Linked DNA regions of Homo sapiens: region 2 is linked to region 1. Evidence: promoter capture Hi-C in 16 types of primary human blood cells and fetal thymus (Javierre and others, 2016). All regions are on one chromosome and are shown on one strand. The core of a region is centred on a gene start or on the middle of the fragment in contact, and the rest is flanking DNA. Distances in the headings are between cores, read along the strand shown. Region 1 holds the start of EGFR-AS1 (EGFR antisense RNA 1). Region 2 overlaps SEC61G-DT (SEC61G divergent transcript).

What was found. Contacts are between HindIII fragments. The CHiCAGO score rates a contact against its expected background, and 5 or more counts as called.
Region 2: a fragment that was not itself captured here is called in contact with the fragment with the promoter of EGFR-AS1 in region 1 in 2 of 17 cell types (endothelial precursors and activated CD4 T cells); the score reaches 8.1 in endothelial precursors.

Annotation. Positions count from the first base shown.
Region 1 is chr7:55,186,421-55,190,433 of GRCh38, reverse strand. It overlaps EGFR-AS1 (EGFR antisense RNA 1), which reads left to right and starts at 1,485. Exons shown (of 2, transcript NR_047551.1): 1 at 1,485-1,577. The region is part of intron 20 of EGFR (epidermal growth factor receptor); the gene reads right to left. The HindIII fragment of the contact is 13,947 bases long and covers 1-4,013 here.
Region 2 is chr7:54,801,201-54,804,918 of GRCh38, reverse strand. It overlaps SEC61G-DT (SEC61G divergent transcript), which reads right to left. Exons shown (of 3, transcript NR_110040.1): 3 at 1-253. Among named protein-coding and RNA genes, the nearest start is that of SEC61G-DT, 44 kb to the right of the region's middle. The HindIII fragment of the contact is 1,680 bases long and covers 1,436-3,115 here.

The DNA.
Region 1 (4,013 bases), core at 236-2,735:
TCATCATAAGAACCTAGGGTCTCGCAAAGATGCTATGCAGAATTAGTCTTTGGGCGCCGTTTGTGAGGCCTTTAATGTTTTTCTCTTTTGGAAAAGAGACGCTTGCCTGACACCCACGTCTCATGACTACATGGACTGTCCCCTCACCCTGCACTGCCGAGAGCGCTCCTACGGGTTTCCGATGCTGCTGGACGTTAGTGCTTCCCTGCCTACTTAAGAGGAAATGAGCAGGTTCTTCTCTGGACAACACTTCCAGATTAGGAAGTATTATGTCAGGATGGTGGGTGGAAAGGGAGAGGAGAGGGGGGGCAGAAGCCGAGGAAGCGCTTCCCAAAAGAGGACTGGCCCAGACTCCCTGCTACTCTGGCAGCCTGGGTCTCCTTCAGAGGCAAGCTCCCTGCCCCCGCTGTCTGCCTCGTTTGACTCCTGCGATGCTGACTTGCTCTCTGCCTGGTACCCTGTCTCTTACAGAGCAAGGCCTCTGTTTATTAAATATCATGAACTCCTGCCCATTCGAAAGGGAGAGTTAGGCTCAGCCTCTTGCTGGTTCAACTGAGTGTCTACCTTCTTGGCTGTGTGAACTCCCAGGCTATCTCCTCTTCTCTCTTCTCTGTCCCTTGATTTCTCACCCTCACCCTTGCTTTCTCCTTTCTTTCTACCCTGTTCGTTCTTCACATTTGTACCTTTTGTTCGTTCTTCACATTTGTTGAAGGCGTCCTCTGTGGTAGCTGTTGAGCAGGAGTGGCACAGGCCTACAGTAAAGAGCCACACACAAGTCCCCATGCAGAGGACCAGGAACCTCTCCCTTTCTCCCTCTCTATTTAAAATGCGTGGTTTCTACATATTCATTAAGCCCACAAGGAGGCCCTCAGAGCACATTCCCAGCTTCGTTTCACCACCACTGCTAACTTTCATTCTGCCTCTTTAAATGCTTAGCGGAGATTTTGGTATACTGGGCACATTTTTAAAACGGCCTGTTGAAGAATGAACAACTGAATGAATGAATGATTGAATGACTGGTGATAGCAGCTGACAGTGCTGAGCACTGGCGATGTGCCAGCCCTTTCACACACGTCCGTGCAGACACCTTTTCTATCCCAGTCCCCACACGACCACCTCGTTAGATGACCTGGGGTCCAGAGACTGAAGCATGTGGCTGCACAGACCAAATACCCTGAGACCCCAAGACCACTACTGGGACCATGGCTTTAATTGCCCTGCTGGGAAATGCACCTGCTAAGCCAGAGGCTGCTTGGGGTTTTATATATATGCATATGTGTGTATATATATATATGTATATGTGTATATATATATACACACACACACACACACACATTATGTGTGAGAGCATGAGACAGCGTGAGCATGCACCTTGGTCCCGTGCCTCTGGGGAAGTCCGCGTCACTCTGTCAATCTAACAAATCCAGCTGACCTCTGGCCCAGCCCTTCCCCACTCCTCACACCAGGGCTTTAAAGGACCTGAGCCATTTCTACACAGTGTCTGTTTCCTCAGAACACCGGTCTTCACCAAAGGCGTGGGAAAGGGCAGAGAGCACAGGACATATTCTGGAATTCAGGTAATCAGTTGGAGGGTTTTAAGTCAGAGACAGCTTTGGGACAAGGAGAGAATCCCATGTGAACTTAGAGGAGACTTGACGCATGGGTCTCCGTCCCACTGCCGGCACATTTGAAAGGACAACTCTGTGCCTGGCGCAGTTATGCTTTAACTGGTCCCCAAAGATAAGAGCTGCGATACGGCCTGTGAGCTCCCAGGGTCCGAGCAGAGGTCGCAGGAAGAAATATCAACAAAGCCTCAGCGGGGCCTCTCAGGAAACTCAGTTCCTGCTTCTTCTCCGAGACCCTCACTTTAATTGAAATTAAAATATTTATTTTTGTTAATTACTACAGGAAAACTGGAATGAATTTTGAAATACAGCACTGAGGTTAAAAGGGGATTTGAAAAGCCAGCCTGGAACTTCCACTTACAAAAAAGAAGGCTCTGCTCCACATGGCTGTCGGGGCTTATTCTGGCAGGGTACCCCAGAGTGAGGGGCGGGGGCTGTGTTTGACCTTGAAGGGCTGGGTGTTCCCAGGGGCTGCCGCACCCCACGAGTCTTGGGAGGAGTTCAGAGTGAGAGGCGGGAACTGGATTGTTTGTGTTCTATTTTGTAAATCTCCTGTGGAAGAGCTCATGGAGCAGTGACTTAGGAAGGAAGTGGAGGAGGGGAGGACGAGAAGGCCGCGTGGTTCTGGTGGAGTGGAGGGCTTTCCTATCAACACTATTCTGTTGTTGCTGTTGTTCAGAAGTATTTATTTAAAGCAAGATCAGAAAGAGGCTTAAGGTTCATCATCTTCAAAATAACCCACCTCTACCAGAACCATGCTGAGACCAAGACCACCATCACCCTTCCCCTGGGGGCTGGGGCTCACCTCTCACCTCCACTTTGGGCTGGTCCTGAGGCAGGCAAGGCCAGACACTCTTGGCCACAGCTAGGGAGAAGGTGAGGGGCCCCGCAGGGCTTTCTCAGGCCTCATCTTCCAGGATCCCCCTGTACAAATGATGGTGTTCTCCCCTCAACCTTTTAGCCCTTGGGGTGCTGGTGGGGAGGGCAGCCCCACCCCAGAGACCCACCTGCAACTGGTAGAGGTAAGGGATGGGGTTCAGGGGGGCTCTGAAACTACGGATCTGATGAAGTTTTTAAGCAGAGTGGTCACCAGGAGAAGCCTCCGCTCCTGTCTCTGGACTCCAGATCTCAGAGCATCTGTGGCCTTGAGCTCCCTAAAAAATGGAAGAGTCTGTTCCTCAGGCCAGCTTGCCACCTTCCCAGGCAGGCATAGAGTAAGTGCTAGACCTCGGAAGAGGCAGGAAAGTGTCAGAATGTCCTATTCCTAGACAGAAGTGGTGCAGCACGGGCACCCTGCTGCTCAGGGAGGGAGGGCTGCTGGGACCCCTGTCCTGAGAGTCATGCTCTGAGCTGGGGCATCCATGCAGGCTGAGAGGCTGCACCATGGAACCAGGCCACCTGGATCAAATCCTGAGATCTTGGCAAGTGACGTAAACACCGCATGCCTTTGTTTCCCCATATGTAGAATGGATTAATCAGAGGGTGGAATGAGTTTATGTAGAGATAGCACCCATGGAGAGTCCCGGGTAGGTGCTCATGATTGTCACCATTTCCTCCAAATGCCAAATCTATTCTCTCTTCTCCATTCCTTTTGCAGCGACCTTGAATTTGGCCACCATCTTGCCTTTGTGATGAGGCTCCATGTGCTTGGCCCTGAGGGGTCCACCCCTCCTCCCCAGTGTCCCTTATCTGGTGGTTTCCTCCCTGTCCTCAGCATCTCCCAGTCAGAGTCACTTCCCCACCCTCAAGTGCCTTCACGCCCTGTCCGCAGCCAACTCTCACCCACAGAGGCCTCCTGGACAGGGAAAGGACCTGTCACGCTGTTTGGTCTGCAGGACTCACGGCTCTGGAGGGTGAGGGGCCATCTGGCTTGTTCACTGCTATCTTCCCAGAGCCAGGGGGCTTGGCTGACAGACCCATTCCATTCAAACTTGGAGCTCACCCTCCCTGTGCCTTGCATGGTGGCCTCACTATAGCTGCGCCTCCTGCTCTGACCTGCTTCCCTTCCTGCTCTGTATTTGTTGGCAAACTTGGGGAGATAAGAAATTTTGTCTTACTTCTATATGTATTTCATGTGATGCTTAACACTAGCAGGTAAATGCTTAAGAAATAACTAGTCAAAATGTCTAAAGATGATGAATGTGCTTCAACAGCACTGTGAGCTTTGTCTTTTTAGTGATATACTAAAGTGATCATTAGGTTAAGTTTAGCTGCGACCCTTTGTGGAATACGCAAGAACAAATAAAAAAAATAACTCACATAACTGAAATCTCTGGTCCTTGGACCTAGGAATCCACAAAGCTGTGTGATGTGAACGTGCTGGGTAAGTCATCCTCTCTGGCCCAGTGCAGACGGGATCAGGAGGTGCAGGGCTGAGTCACCACCCTG
Region 2 (3,718 bases), core at 1,026-3,525, 390 kb after region 1:
TGTTCACTCCCACCCCTGCCCTACATACTCACACCATCAGTGTGACAGGGAAGGCCCAGGGAAGAAGTGCTCTGTGATCACAGATAGTCCATCGCGGTGAGAGACCCACCTCGCAGTGAGGAAAACAGTGCGTTTTATAGGAGCACAAGTCCCCTGGTAATGTTCATGAAGGTTGCTCTTCAGTGGATCTTTCAGCAAGTGCATACACAAGGATGACGGGCTTTCTACAGTTACAACATGTTCAATCTTCTGACTAGGTCAAGAGAAAAAAGAAAAAACAGACATCCCAGGTTATACGTCTGTCTGCACTGGCAGGATGCTCCCAGCGAGGGGACCTCCAGTTAGGGAAGCTCCCAGCGGGCATTGCCAGGTAAGCAGCTCCTCTTGAAGAATGCAGTCTCTACTGGGTTGTTTAGCTTGTGTGTGCCACACGTTGATACTCTGCCCAAACAACAGCTGTTTTAACTGAAGTGGAATATTCCACGCAACACTGATACAAAAACAAAATAACTCTTCGTTGTATATTTTCCTATGTGGAAAATATAGGCTTTGTCAATTCTATACATGCAGACAAAAATACAGAAAACGTAAAGCCTATTGCATAAATTGGAAAGCCTGTTTATGTTGTGATATATTGTTACATTCAAATTATATAGGGAGTTCGCTGGAAACGTTCATTGCTGAGACCACTTTGTTTCTGAAGAGACCATGTGTGTCCGGAGCTGGTTCCTGCTGGTGGGTTCATGGTCTCACTGACTTCAAAGAATGAAGCCGCAGACCTTCATGGTGAGTGTTACAGCTCTTAAAGATGGCACAGACCCAAGAACTGAGGGGTAGCAAGGTTTACTGTGAAGAACGAAAGGACAAAGCTTCTGCAACGTGGAAGCGTACCTGAGCAGGTTGCTGCTGCTGGCTGGGATGGCCAGCTTTTATTCCTTTATTATGCCCACCCATGTCCCGTTTCTGTCCTATCAGAGTGCCCTTTTTTCAATCCTCCCCACAATTGGCTACGTTTAGAATCCTGCTGATTCGTGCATTTGACAGAGCGCCAATTGGTGTGTTTTACAGAGCACTGATTAGTGTTTTACAGAGTGCTGATTGGTGCGTTTTACAATCCTCTTGTAAGACAGGAAAGTTCCCCAAGTCCCCACTGGACCCAGGAAGTCCAGCTGGCCTCACCTCTCACATGGACCTTGGCAAACCCTCAGTTGGGCGTAAGAGAGGCGATGGGTGTCTCAGGTTGGGCTCCACACCCAGGGTTATCCTGGAGGCAGCTCCTGGGGGCTCAGAGCACCAATTGTTAAATGCACAGCAATTCTATGAGGAAGCTGCTAAACTGTTTATAGCTTGAAATCAGCTATGGCAGGAATCTTTACACAACAAAAGTCAGCAAATGCCGCAAATCAGGGTTGTTGTTGTTTAAATTCAGAAAGCTTATTTACACCACTATGCCACCTTCCAGGCAGAAGAGTGTAAAAGGTGGAGAATTATTACAGGGTGATTGCACTGCTCAGAGGGGTAAGAGACGCTATCCAGAATGCAACAGCATACTGTACCAGGAACATTTTTACAAGCTGCCTGGTAACATGTTTCGGTCTCTGAATTTGGTTGGATTATTAAAGATTCACATCCTGCATGTTTTTATAATTATTATTTCAAATTACAGTAATAATTTCAGCCTAAGAATTAGCTAGCCAACGTTTGGTCTCCTGTATGTCAGAAAACCTTTCCATGACTGGTTACCATGCTTTCAAAGAACATCTAGTGGAGAGGCAGCAAAAAAAAGCAGGCCAGGAAATTGCTCACATGTATTAGAAGAGAAACTTGTCAGCAACCTTGTTGGAAGTCCTAGTCATCTTCCAACTAGTTCTGACTCAGCAAGCCGCTCAGGAGTGCACCCACCAAATGCAGGGGAAGGCCCAGGTAGGTAGTGAGGGAAGGTGCCAGCCTAGCGGGTAGCTCCTCAGCTTAGATTTGAATCAGTGAAAAACAGAAATATGCTCTCCTGACTCAGTCATACTGTGCTAAGGTAACAACCCAAGCGGCTAAGGAGCAAAGTGTGATTTTTCATGGAGAGAAAATATTGACACAAGAGCACGTGTAGGAATTTTCCATTTATCTCACAAATTATCCTGATCTAATTGACTCGGGCATCAAAAAGCCAGTGCTCTGAAGAAAGTTGCAGTCGATAACATAAGGGAGTGAATGAGATAGATTTGCAGACGTCAGAATGTCAAGAAGAATGCCAGGCCTGAAGACCCAGAAGAAGATGTACAATAATTATCTAAACAAGAGAGATGCATCTGAGACTTAGTGAGGGGCACAGGGTCCTTGAATTACGATCCAAGGGCAAATCCAAGAAGGGTTAACGTCGTCATTCAAGTAACTTTATTCCAGGCAGAAATTTCTACATACCAAGAAATGTCTGAGAGAATGGTCCAAACTTACTCGGGGTTGAGGGGGGCGGGGGCGGGTGGGGAAAGTAGTTGTTTTGTTTAGGTGCAAAGGAAAGACAGAGTAATAAACTGAAGCAAAACGTACAAGTGCAGGTGTGAACGAAAGGACTGGAGAAGACCCAGCCTGGAGCATGGCCCCGTGCCAGCCAGGAGCTGCTTGGGTCGGCGTTGCACTGCGTCTGATGAAGAATCTGACTTTGACTGCAAGTGCTGCCTCTTACCATAACCTTCCCTAACGCTGGCCTCTGATGGTTCTGATCTTTGCTGCCAGAGCTGCGCTGAGTTTTCTCTCTCTGCTTTTTAGATTTCCTTGAATATTTTAAAGAAAAAGTTAAAAAAAATAAGATGCTATATCCTGTTCTGAAACATTTTCAGGAAGTCCACTACAAATTGCATTTGTAAAGAAATAATAAGTGTATTCAAAGGACTAGGCATGGTTTTATATTCAGCCCACAGCCTAGCAGAGCCAATAAAACCAAAGTCAAGTCCCAGTTTCAGGTGGAGACCTCTCAAGTCATGACATCCCTTTTAATGATCTTAGGTTTATTTATATACAGGAGGTGGATGGAAAAATGGGGTTTTGTGGATATTACTATTTTTGTTCCATGAGGAAACAGTTTTATATATTCCTTGACTACCAAACAACTGGGCTAAAAGCTTGAAATTAGCAATCCTTGTCATAAAGACAGAAGGATACTACGCTGAAATGGAGGAGAGTTAGTATTTCATTAATTCAACAATTATGGAGCAACTGTTTTGAAACAGTCACACTGTCAGATATTAGAATATGTAAATCAATTAGACATATTTACCACTCTCGAGGGACTGAGGGACTGCTGAGGAAGACATGTGGAAAGGTTGTTACAATCCAGGTCAGTGAGATTTCATGTGAGTAATGCAGGTAATGATCACATGAAATGCGGAGTTACCGAATGCACATGAAGTTCTCATGTCGGAAGGCTAGCTTACTGATGTTCAGTGTCAGCTAGTCATCAGATGTGGAGAAAATCAACTGTGTACTAAGTCTAATTCATTCAGATGAAACATAATAGGAACTCTTTTTTTGTTTGTTTTTGTTTTTTGAGACAGAGTCTCGCTCTGTCGCCCAGGCTGGAGTGCAGTGGCGCGATCTCGGCCCACTACAACCTCCGCCTCCTGGATTCAAGCGATTCTCCTGTCTCAGCCTCCTGAGTAGCTGGGATTACAGGCACGCACCACCACACCTGGCTAATTTTTGTATTTTTAGTAGAGACGGGCTTTCA